3 separate regions of the Homo sapiens genome follow, and regions 1 and 3 are each linked to region 2. Evidence: promoter capture Hi-C in human tissues and cell types (Jung and others, 2019). All regions are on one chromosome and are shown on one strand. Each heading gives the region's core, a stretch centred on a gene start or on the middle of the fragment in contact. The rest is flanking DNA. Distances are from core to core; before and after follow the strand shown. Region 1 overlaps THOC5 (THO complex subunit 5). Region 2 holds the start of HORMAD2 (HORMA domain containing 2). Region 3 holds the start of NEFH (neurofilament heavy chain).

Evidence for each region. The method cuts DNA at HindIII sites, captures the fragments that hold promoters and counts their contacts. A contact is called where the count stands out against the background at its distance.
Region 1: a contact is called between a fragment that was not itself captured here and the fragment with the promoter of HORMAD2 in region 2, in 1 of the 25 tissues and cell types used here (lymphoblastoid cells).
Region 3: the fragment with the promoter of NEFH here is called in contact with the fragment with the promoter of HORMAD2 in region 2 in 4 of the 25 tissues and cell types used here (adrenal gland, dorsolateral prefrontal cortex, lymphoblastoid cells and 1 more).

The regions. Positions count from the first base shown.
Region 1 is chr22:29,548,944-29,552,499 of GRCh38, reverse strand. THOC5 (THO complex subunit 5) reads left to right here. Exons shown (of 20, transcript NM_003678.5): 2 at 3,342-3,448. The coding sequence starts at 3,353. Among named protein-coding and RNA genes, the nearest start is that of THOC5, 3.0 kb to the left of the region's middle. RefSeq lists an enhancer at 1-620. The HindIII fragment of the contact is 5,636 bases long and covers 1-3,556 here.
Region 2 is chr22:30,079,160-30,082,521 of GRCh38, reverse strand. It overlaps HORMAD2 (HORMA domain containing 2), which reads right to left and starts at 2,058. Exons shown (of 11, transcript NM_152510.4): 1 at 2,031-2,058. HORMAD2-AS1 (HORMAD2 and MTMR3 antisense RNA 1) reads left to right here and starts at 2,265. Exons shown (of 5, transcript NR_110541.2): 1 at 2,265-2,394. RefSeq lists enhancers at 1,988-2,067, 1,905-2,602 and a silencer at 2,408-2,457. The HindIII fragment of the contact is 22,926 bases long and covers 1-3,362 here.
Region 3 is chr22:29,478,701-29,482,359 of GRCh38, reverse strand. NEFH (neurofilament heavy chain) reads right to left here and starts at 2,142. Exons shown (of 4, transcript NM_021076.4): 1 at 1,215-2,142. The coding sequence starts at 2,097. RefSeq lists an enhancer at 266-1,120. The HindIII fragment of the contact is 10,845 bases long and covers 1-3,659 here.

The sequences.
Region 1 (3,556 bases), core at 106-2,605, 530 kb after region 2:
GGGGCTCCTCACCTCTCAGACGGGGCAGCCGGGCAGAGACGCTCCTCACCTCCCAGACGGGGTCGCAGCCGGGCAGAGGTGCTCCTCACATCCCAGACGGGGCGGCGGGGCAGAGGTGCTCCCCACATCTGAGATGATGGGCGGCCGGGCAGAGACACTCCTCACTTCCTAGACGGGATGGGGTCCGGGAAGAGGTGCTCCTCACTTCCCAGACTGGGCAGCCGGGCAGAGGGGCTCCTCACATCCCAGATGATGGGCAGCCGGGCAGAGACGCTCCTCACTTCCCAGACGGGGTGGCGGCCGGGCAGAGGCTGCAATCTTGGCACTTTGGGAGGCCAAGGCAGGCGGCTGGGAGGTGGAGGTTGTAGCGAGCCGAGATCACGCCACTGCACTCCAGCCTGGGCACCATTGAGCACTGAGTGAACGAGACTCCGTCTGCAATCCTGGCACCTCGGGAGGCCGAGGCTGGCCGATCACTCGCGGTCAGGAGCTGGAGACCAGCCTGGCCAACACAGCGAAACCCCGTCTCCACCAAAAAATACGAAAACCAGTCAGGCGTGGCGGCGCGCGCCTGCAATTGCAGGCACTCGGCAGGCTGAGGCAGGAGAATCAGGCAGAGAGGTTCCAGTGAGCCGAGATGGCCGCAGTACAGTCCAGCTTCGGCTCGGCATCAGAGGGAGACCGTGGAGAGAGGGGGAGGGGGGAGGGGGAGGGGTTTACTAAAAATTTTTAATCCAGTCCAAATTTTTTTTTTGCAACGGGATCTCTGTTGTCAAGACTGAGTGCAGTGGCGCGATCATAGCTCACTGCAGCCTGGAACTTCTGGGCTCAAGCCATCCTCCCACCCTAGCCTCCAGAGTAGCTTGGGACCACAGGTGTGCACCGCCATACTAGGCTAATTTTAAAATGTTTTCTAAAGATGGGGTCTCGCTCTGTTGCCCACTCTGGTCTTGAACGCCTGGGCTCAAGCGATTCTCTCACCTCTGCTTGCCTTGGTTTCCCAAAGTGTTGGGATTACAGGTGTGAGCCATGGTGTTGGGCCCAGTCACTTTTTTTGTTGTTGTTGAGACTGAATCTCGCTCTGTTGCCCAGGCTGGAGTGAAGTGGCTGCGATCTCGGCTCATTGCAACCTCTGCTCCCTGGGTTCAAGTGATTCTCCTACCTCAGCCTCCTGAGTAGCTGAGATTACAGGCGCCCGCCTCCACTCCCGGCTAATTTTTGTATTTGTGGTACTGACGGGGTTTCACCATGTTGGCCAGGCTGGTCTCAAACTCCTGACCTCAGGTGATCCACCCGCCTCAGCCTCCCAAAGTGCTGGGATTACAGGCCTGAGCCACTGCGCCCAGCCAAGTCACTTTTTAAACTCAAATTTACTTTGAGAGAAAACTTGAAATCTCTCCACCAGAAATGGAAAGCTGCTTTCACTTGTTTTATGTAGAAGGTAAAAATTAATATAGTTAATATAATGCAACTAGATCATTGTTAACAAACTCTGGCTAGATTTTGTTGTTTAAGGCTGTGGGATAGAGTTCTTTTGTTACAAAGGAACATTGGCATTCATAGATGTTAAAGACAAACTAGGGAACTGAGATGTTCTCCTTGAAGCAATCAGAAGTTTCAAAATAAGAATTGAAAAGGGATTAACTTTCTCCTTAGGTGTTCAGCATTATTTAAGATCACCTATGCATCATCTGAAGCCACAGTCCCAGGTCATCTTCATCACCTTCCCCAGTGGAATGCCTCCTGTGTTAAAGCCCACAACAACCCCTGTGGTAGGGACTGTTATTCTCATTTGATTTGTGAGGAATCAGACCCAGAGAAAAGTGAAGTGACTCGTCCGGGGACTCATAGCCATGAAAGAGTAGAATGGAGATTCCAGTTCAGGGCTCTCTGACTTTTACCGTGACAAACTATTGGCTCCCTCAAGTCGGGGATGTGGAAGCTTCAGTGAGTGATGATTGTGCCACTGCACTCCAGCTTGGGTGACAGAGCAAGAGGGATTAGGGTAAAGGGGACAGTGCTGCCCACCTCAGGAGGCTGTGGTGAGGCAACAAGGGAGGATGCTTTGTGACTGTAGAGCCCCATGAAATGTAGGTTCTATACTTTAAATTCTAGGATCAACCTGGGAGTCAATGGCATCACTAGATGAGAGGCTGGCAGGACTAGGAGGCATAAAAGTGTAGTTAAGAGCACCAGTATGGCATTGATTGGATAGATCCGGATTTTGGCCTACTAGTCATGTGACTCGCAATTACTTGCAAGTAATTCCCCTTGCGAGCCTCAGTTTTGTCATCTGTGAAATGGTGGTAGTTCTTAGCTGAAAAGTTTGTTATAAGGAGCAAATGAGAACATACCCATAAAGTAGTTAGATCAAGGCCCAGCACACAGTGATCACAGTAGTATTGGGAGTGTCTTTAAATGCCAGACCGAGGAGTTTGGATACTAATTTATGGAGCACTCTGCCAGGCTCAGGGGGAAGAGGGTAGAGCTCACAATCTAGGTGGGAAGACAGGTAAATGATTCATAGAGATAAATTCCCTAATAGTGTACCCAAAGTAGCCAAAAGAGGGCTTTGGGGAGACCTGACAGGCTTCCTAGAGCAGATGAGCATTGCTTAGTCTTGAAGGATATAGGGAGGAAAAGGAAGATCTTTGCAAGCAGGGGAAAAGACATGGAGTGTTTGGGGAACTGGGATTGCAGGGTGCAGTTGCAGCTAGGAGCAGAGGTTGGGGACAGTGGGAAGGTCGGTAGGAATAGGAATGCAAGAAATGAAGTTGGGAAGGTAGGTTGGGGACAAACCATCAAGGGTCTTTATGACAAGTCAGGGAATATGGATATTCAGTGCATTATGAAGAGCCAGCAAAGGTTTTGAAACAGGAGAGGCATTAATTAGGTCGGTCTTTTTTAAGAAAGAGAATTTAGACAGTATTGTTGGGCAAGACTGTTAGAGTAGTCCTGGAGAGGAATGTGGAGGGCCTGGCCTAGGGTGTTGAGATGGAGACACACATGGTGCCTGGATAGCTGGGTGAACACTTGAATGCAGGTCTCCTCTATGGAGAGTGTGGAGCAGGATGTGGGTGGAGGCAGGGCAGGGAGAGGTTGAAGTAGATGATTCCGAGGTCAGTGGGAGTGGGTGGTGATGCCTTTTTAAAAGAGAAGGTGGAGTTTGTTTTGGACAGGCTGAGAGATGCTTCCCTGTTGTATTACAGAGGGTTAAATTGAGGCTTTGAGGGGTTAAATGACTTTCCTTGAGTTACCAAGTCTGTAAGTGGCCAGAACTGCTAGTTTGACTTCAGTGTTATGACTCCAGAAGAATCTCAAAAACTTTCTCCTCTTAACAGGAGGAACAACCATGTCATCAGAATCGAGCAAAAAACGGAAGCCCAAAGTGATCCGAAGCGATGGAGCCCCAGCTGAAGGAAAGCGGAATCGATCTGACACCGAGCAGGTGAGATCAGTCAGGGTTGCCATGCTGCTGAGAAATTACATCTCATGGCCAAGCACCTGGCTGTGTGTTTGCAGCAGCTCGGGGTCGCATCTACCAGGTACAACTTTT
Region 2 (3,362 bases), core at 809-3,308:
ACCACACCACGCCTTCAATTGCCCTATTTTATATGGTGGCACAATTACTTCCTATTTTACCCCTACTATGTGTGAGTCCAAGATTCACATAAAGATTAGCCAGCTGCTGTTTAGTTTACTAAGGCCTAAACCACTTTTTTAACCATTCCAAGTGAAGCAAAAGCCAAAGTTTTATTACATTTTCCCAAATATAATCATAGTTGATTTATGAAGGCTCTCTACCCATCTTTCTCAATCTTCAAAAACCGTTTTTTACAAGAAAATCCCTTTTCTATCAGGTGAACACTATCCAATAGCTGGATTCTGAAATGTAACTATATTACCTTCCTTACACATGCATGTTGTTAAGAATGGCTTTACTCAAAAGAAGTGTACGTTAACATAAATGGGTTCAATAGATTCCTAAAGCTGGAAGGGAGCACAGACATCTTCCAACCCCTTTGATTTAAAGAAGATCCAATTCTGTGGAGGAAGAATCTTTTTTTCAGCAAATGATGCTGAAACAAAAGGACATCTGGAGGGTGGGGGGAAGAACAGAGAATTAAAAGAAACTTAACCTAAATCTCACACTGTATACAAATATTAATGCAAAATGGATCATGGATTTAAACCTAAACATAAAACTATAAAGAAAAGGGGCCAGGTGCAGTGGCTCACACCTGTAATCCCAGCACTCTGGGAGGCCGAGGTGGGAGGATCACGAGGTCAAGAGATCGAGACTATCCTGGCCAACATGGTGAAACCCTGTCTCTACTAAAAATAAAAAAAAATAAAAAAATTTAGCTGGGCGTGGTGGTGCACACCTGTAGTCCCAGCTACATGGGAGGCTGAGGCAGGGGAATCGCTTGAACCCGAGAGGTGGAGGTTGCAGTGAGCTGAGATTGCGTCACTGCACTCCAGCCTGGCACAGAGCTCGACTCCATCTCACAAAAAAAAAAGAAAAAAGAAAAGGAAAGTGAGGCTAAGCAAGGGAACTTGGTTTGCCAAAGTTCGCCCAATTACTTAGACCTTCCAACAGAGCTTGCTTCAATAAATTATTCACCATTTTAACAAATTCCATTTGGCCCTGGTAATTCCCCTACCTGTGCTCATTCAGAGAAAATGGCTTCCACTATATTAATTGAGTATTTGTTCATGCTCTTTTGACTTTTTAATATCTTTTTCATGCTATTTCAATTATTCATTCATTCAACATCTACGAGGCAACTACAATGTGCCAGGCAACAACATGCAGGATTACGAGATGTAAAATACTGTTCCTACCTCAACAGATTGATGGTCCAATGGAGGAGAAATTAGATTATGATCCTGCTGAGATTAAAAACCCCTTTAGGGGCCAGAACCACCCCTCATTTCTACCAGCTGAGTACACGATGTACTGCACAGCCTGTCCAGTGCCCTGCGTACTCGGACACATTTTGGCGATTGGCTAATCCTGAGGTTCAAGACTCTCTCCCTCTGTTTAGGGAACTAAAGTCCATAGGGATTAATTGGCAAATCCTCACTAAAGTGAAAGGGGAGCTGAGGTCAAGGGGGGCGGGGTGTCTTGTCCCCACCTCTCTCACCTCTTGGCCTGTACCAGGCATCGATCCTGGCAGAAAACCTCAATGGCTGGGGAGAATCTGACCCAGGTAAGATAAACTTCCCCAAAGCTCCACCACACACGGCCCCCTCCAATGTCGGGCACAGACATCGTCTGCCCTGCCAGCCTCATCATGGCTCATTATGGCTGCTGCTTGCTCAGCAAGTTTGATTTCATGTCCAGAAAAATCTGAATTTCAAAACTACCTGGGTGCTCTCTGTCCAGTTCTGGGGGAAATCGCCTCCCTTTTGCCTTCCTCCTCAGCCCCCTGCCCTCCCGATTCTCTTCACAGTACTTTAGGCCCTCACGAAATATGATACTTTCAAATCCAACTTAAAGCCTTAAGTAATAAGAAAAGAAAAAAAAATTGTTTTTTGACATAAAGACAGAACTAACAACGCCCGAGTGCCCTCTCTGGGCCGAGACCTCGCGTCTCAACAGCCCTCACCTCAGCTCGTCGACGCTTCCCTCCCACCGGGGGTCAACGGCCTTTTCCGGCCCAAACCCGCTCCTCGGCTCATGAATAGTCAACGAGGCCTTTCTGGGCGGGACCAGAGGTTTCCTCATGAATAATTCATGACCCGTCCACGGCTAGCCTGGGCGACCGGCCTCGCTAGACTTCATGAATATGCAAAGCAGGGGCGAACGGCGGCTAGCCGGCCCCTAGCCCGCCCGGCCCCTCAGCAGCCGCCTCTCAGCCACGGGCTGCACACTGACCCGACGCGACCTTCGGTCAGGGGCCGCCAGCCTGGGCCACCTATACAACGACAGCCTGCTCCGGGGCTTCCTGAGGAGGTGCCTGCCCCGCCGAGGTTAGGACCCGAGGGACCGTGGGGCTCGGGCGGGCCAGGACGCCAGGCCGGCGGGTCCCAGAGAGGTCTGAGGCGGGCGCGGGGCGGCGTAGGGGAGGGAAGCGAGAGCCTGGGGGGCCCAGGGACCCGAGTTAGAAGAAGGCCCGAGAAGTGCGGCGCGGTGGCTCCACCTGGGATCCCAGCACTCTGGGAGGCTGAGGCGGGCGCGTCACTTGAGGTCAGGAATTCGAGACCAGCCTGGCCAACATGTTGAAAACCCGTCTCTACAAAAAATACAAAAATTAGCTGGGCGTGGTGGCGCGCGCCTGTAGTCCCAGCTACTTGGGAAGCTGAGGCACGAGAATCGCTTGAGCCCAGGAGGCTGAGGTTGCAGTGAGCCGAGATTCCGCCATTGCACTCCAGCCTGGGCGACAGAGCGAGACTCCGTCTCAAAAAAATTTTAAAAAGTACAAAAATTAGCTGGGCCACCTGACGTGCGCCTGTAGTCCCAGCTGCTCGGGAGGCTGAGGTAGGAGGATCGCTTGAGCCGGGGAGTTTGAGGTTGCAGTGAGCCAAGATCGTACCATTGCACTCCAGCCTGGGCAACAGAGGGAGACCCTGTCTCAAAAATAAAAAAAAAGAAAAGAAAGAAAAAAGACATAAGGCCAGAAGGCCAGAGCTTTCCAATACTTGAGGGCATCTGCAACCTCTTCATCCCTACCCTGGACCTGACTTTGCATTCTTTTTAACATTAATTTGTAATTATGCAAATAAAACATAAATATATTCTCCTTTGTGCCCTACCCCTAATCTCAGTTTTTTCTGCCCTGGTAACTGTGGGAGCAGTTGGGGGTGTGGCTCCTTGGATCGTTTCTCACCTGTTTAGGTAGATATTTCGTATCCTGTGGTGCTTTCCAAAGGCTCCTGGAGTCCCATGAACCTCCCCAAGGGGATTTCCCAAGAGAGTAGATGAAAGAGTGAGCCACTTG
Region 3 (3,659 bases), core at 893-3,392, 600 kb after region 2:
AGATAGTGGCACTCAGGGCACAAGTCTTGGCGGGGAGGAAGGAAGCCAGCTGAGTGGGCCAGTACAATCCTGGGACGTCTGCCCCTACGACTGGCAAACCCAAAAGAGGTTTGCGCAGGGAGGGGCCTTGCTGCGGAGATGGAGGAGGGGATGGTTCTGCTCTGCAGAGGAGTGGAAAAGGAACAGAAAAAGCTATGCATCAAAATCCCAGCTTTCCCTGCTAGTGCTGGCAAAGACTTAGAAACCATCCAGGTGGTTGGAGATTCTCAACTATTGTCGATCACAGATGCTTTTGGAAAATCACTGAAGCCTCTGCCCTCTCTCTCAAAAACAACGCAAAGTTTTACAGACAGTTTCGTGAGACATCATGGAACTCCCCGGATTAAGCAGCCCAGTTGATCTACCCTCCTCTTTCAACTCAAAAAGAAATGAAAACCAGAGAGGGCAAGTGTTGGTCAAGGTCACCCTGCAGCTGCTGGGCACAGCCTCAGGGCAGCGCAATCTAGCTGACTCAGGGCTGCAAGGAGTTGGGGGAGGGGCAGACTTGGGAGGCTCCCAGCTTCCCTAAAGGAGAAAGGGGACATTAAAACATGAAAGGGCCCACCAGCCACCTCCGCCACAGGCAACAACTGACTGTAGTAATGGTTCCCTCTAGGAAGAAAGGATGCGAAAAGGTCCTGACCCACCCCCACGTGGAAGATTTAAGGTAGGAACGTTAAGCACTGAGCAGGTAGTGGGAAGGAGCCTGGTAGGGGTGAGAGGAATAGAGTTTCTTGCGGGGTGTAGGAGAGGGCATGGCAGCATTGGCGGGGAAGCCTTGCTACTTAGAAGGGCTAAGAGTCTCCAGCGCTTGCAGACCAGAATCCTGCACCACTTTTTTCCTGTAGAGGAAACTTGTTTTTTTCTTGACGGGGGAGGGATCTCAGAGTGGGGTCGCCTAAGCTTGGGGTAGAGAGCAGCAGGGGGCCCAGAGTTGAAGTACAGCCGTAAAGAACCTGGAAAGGGGGAACCGAAGGACAACCCAGAGTTGGGGCGTCCCACAAGAGACCCAGAGTAAAACTGCGATTTAACTAGGGGCATGCACTTTGCAGAGGGAAGGTGAGCAGCGCGCCACTCCACGCGCAGTCCGGCAGCGCCCCCTTGGGTCACGCAGCCCAAAAGTTCGCTGCGGGGTCAGCAGGGGCGCCCCTCCCCCCACCCGCGCGCCTGCGTACCTCGGAACCACTCCTCGGACTGCAGCGTGCTCTGCACCGCGTGGCCTTCAAGCTGCGCGCGAATCTCGCGCAGCGCCGACGTCACGTCGCACTTCAGGGCGTCGCGCGTCTCGGCCTGCATCTGCGCCTGCGCGGCGCCGGAGCCCTGGATCTGGCCGAGCAGCTCGCCCACCTCTTCCTGGTGGTGGCGCCGCAGGTAGCCGCACTCCTCCTGCAGCGCCTGCGCCTTCTTCTGCAGGTCCACGCGCGCCGCCTCGGCCTCCTGCGCGAAGCGCGCCAGCGCGCGGGCCGCCGCCTCGGCCTCCTCTCGCTGCCGGGCCTCGTCGTCTAGGCGCTGGCGCACGTGCGCGATGTCCTCGAGCAGGTGCTCCTGCTCCAGGCGTAGCTGACCGCGCGCCGCGCCCAGGCGCAGCACCGCGCCGCGCATCTCGCGGACCTCGCGCTCGTACAGCTCGCCCATAGCGGAGCGGCCCGCCTGCTGCTGCCGCAGCGCCGCAGCCTCGCCCTCCAGGCTGCGGTTGTGCGCCTCCAGCTGCCGCACCTTGTCGATGTACCCGGCGAAGCGGTCGTTCAGCGCCTGCAGCTGCTCCTTCTCACTGCGTGAGGTGGCCACCGCCACCATGCAGCCCTCCGGCCCGTTGCTCAGCGTGTCCAGCGAGTCGGTGCTTGAGGCGGCGCCTGCGCCACGGAAGCGGCTGGGCGAGGCGGACACGGAGCTCACGGACGTCCGTGTCCACGAGTGGAAGCCGCTGGAGGAGCCAGCGGCGGAGCGCGTCCCGCCTGCGCCACCCTTTCGGGCTAGCGCGTAGTGGAGGCTGCCGCCGCCATGCAGCGGCGCGAACGGGGCGCCCAGCAGCGCGTCCGCGCCGCCGAAGCTCATCATGGCCTGAGCAGGTGCGCGAGGCCGGGACGGGGCGGGAGGCACTGCGGCAGCACCAGGGCGCCGGCCCTTTTATAGCCGCCGCGGCCGGGTCCAACCCCTTGGCAGTGAGAGGGTGGGGAGGAGGGCCCCGCCCTCTCCGCCTCCTCCCCTGCGGCCCCCCGGCCGACCGGCTCCGCCGCAGTGAGAGGGGCGGGGCAGGGGACCGAGGAGGGAAGGGGAATCGACGCTGCGTCAGAGGAGACCCTCGAGGTCGGGGAAGCGGGCAGAGGACTCCCGGAGTGGGCCAGTGAGGACCCCCGGGTGCGCGTCGGAAGAGCCTGCGAGTGTGTTCGGAATAAGAAAGGGGACTTGAAACAGGGAGAGGACAAGGAGAAACCTGATGGGAATAGGGGCAGGATGCCCTCGGGATGGAGCAATGGAAGATTGCAGTCATTAGGATGAGGGGATCCCTGTATGAGACAGGACACGAGGCTTTCCAAATAGTTAAGAGAGGCTTTCAGGATAGGGGGTGCAGAGACTGTGCAGCCAGCCCCGGAACAGAGGAGGGAGCAAGGCAGTCCTGAATGGGAGCATGGACGCTCCATAGAACGGAGACAGGAGACCCCTGACCGGGGGAGGTACAGTGTTCTCCTAACATCTAGAGGACCCACTTGGAGAGCGCTCAGGAAACTCCGCGGCCAGCCCCGGAATAGATGAAGGGGGACCTGGAGTTGGGGAGAATAGCAAGGCTACCCTGAATGGGGGTATGGGAGACACTGCAGAGGATGGAGAGAGGGAACCCCGGATGGGTGGGGTTGGGGGGAGGCAAGGCGTTCTCTAAAAAGTCTGCAGTGGCCCCCGAGAGAGGAGATGGGAGACCCTGCTGCCAGCCCCAGTAAAGGGGACGGACCCTCAGCGAAGCGGGCAGAAGGTCCCCTGAACAGGCAGGAGAAAGCTGGGCTGAGTTTGAGGGGCAGAGAACCTACAGTGGGGGTACCGTAGGAGGGCTTGGGCATGAAGTTGAGAGAGCTGGCCCCTGTGTGGGGTGGGGGGAAATGATGGGTGTCACCCGAGCCAGCTTCTGCACACTGGGGTCAGCTAGGCAGTTTGCTGGTCGAATGACCTTGGACAAGCTGTGTCCTCCCACCCTTGTTTTTCCATCTGTACAACGAAGGGGTCTTGCCCCAGAGACAAGCTCCAACTCCTGACCCCCGACTGCCCCAGGAAGTTCCACTTTGAGGGGTCTCTGGCTGAACTGGGGATGGGGAACCCACATCTTGCCGTTCTGTCAACACTAGGAAGTCCTCTTTTCTCCCTCCCCCTCCCCATCTTCTCAGCCTCAACTTGTCCTCTCTTCCCCCACTCCTGTAACAGACAAGCAGGCGCCTGAGTCGGCATCCCTTCTCTCTTACAGGGAAGTGATGAGATGCTTTCTGAGTACCAAAGTCCCTCACCCCAATAGGATGTCAGGTAGAAGAAGGGGTCCCCAGGATTTAGGGGGCCCTGCAACGGCTGTGACATTTGGCTCTTTATTGGTTTTGGCTCATGTTTTATGCTGTGGGAGTGGGGGTGGTGCTGCGGCT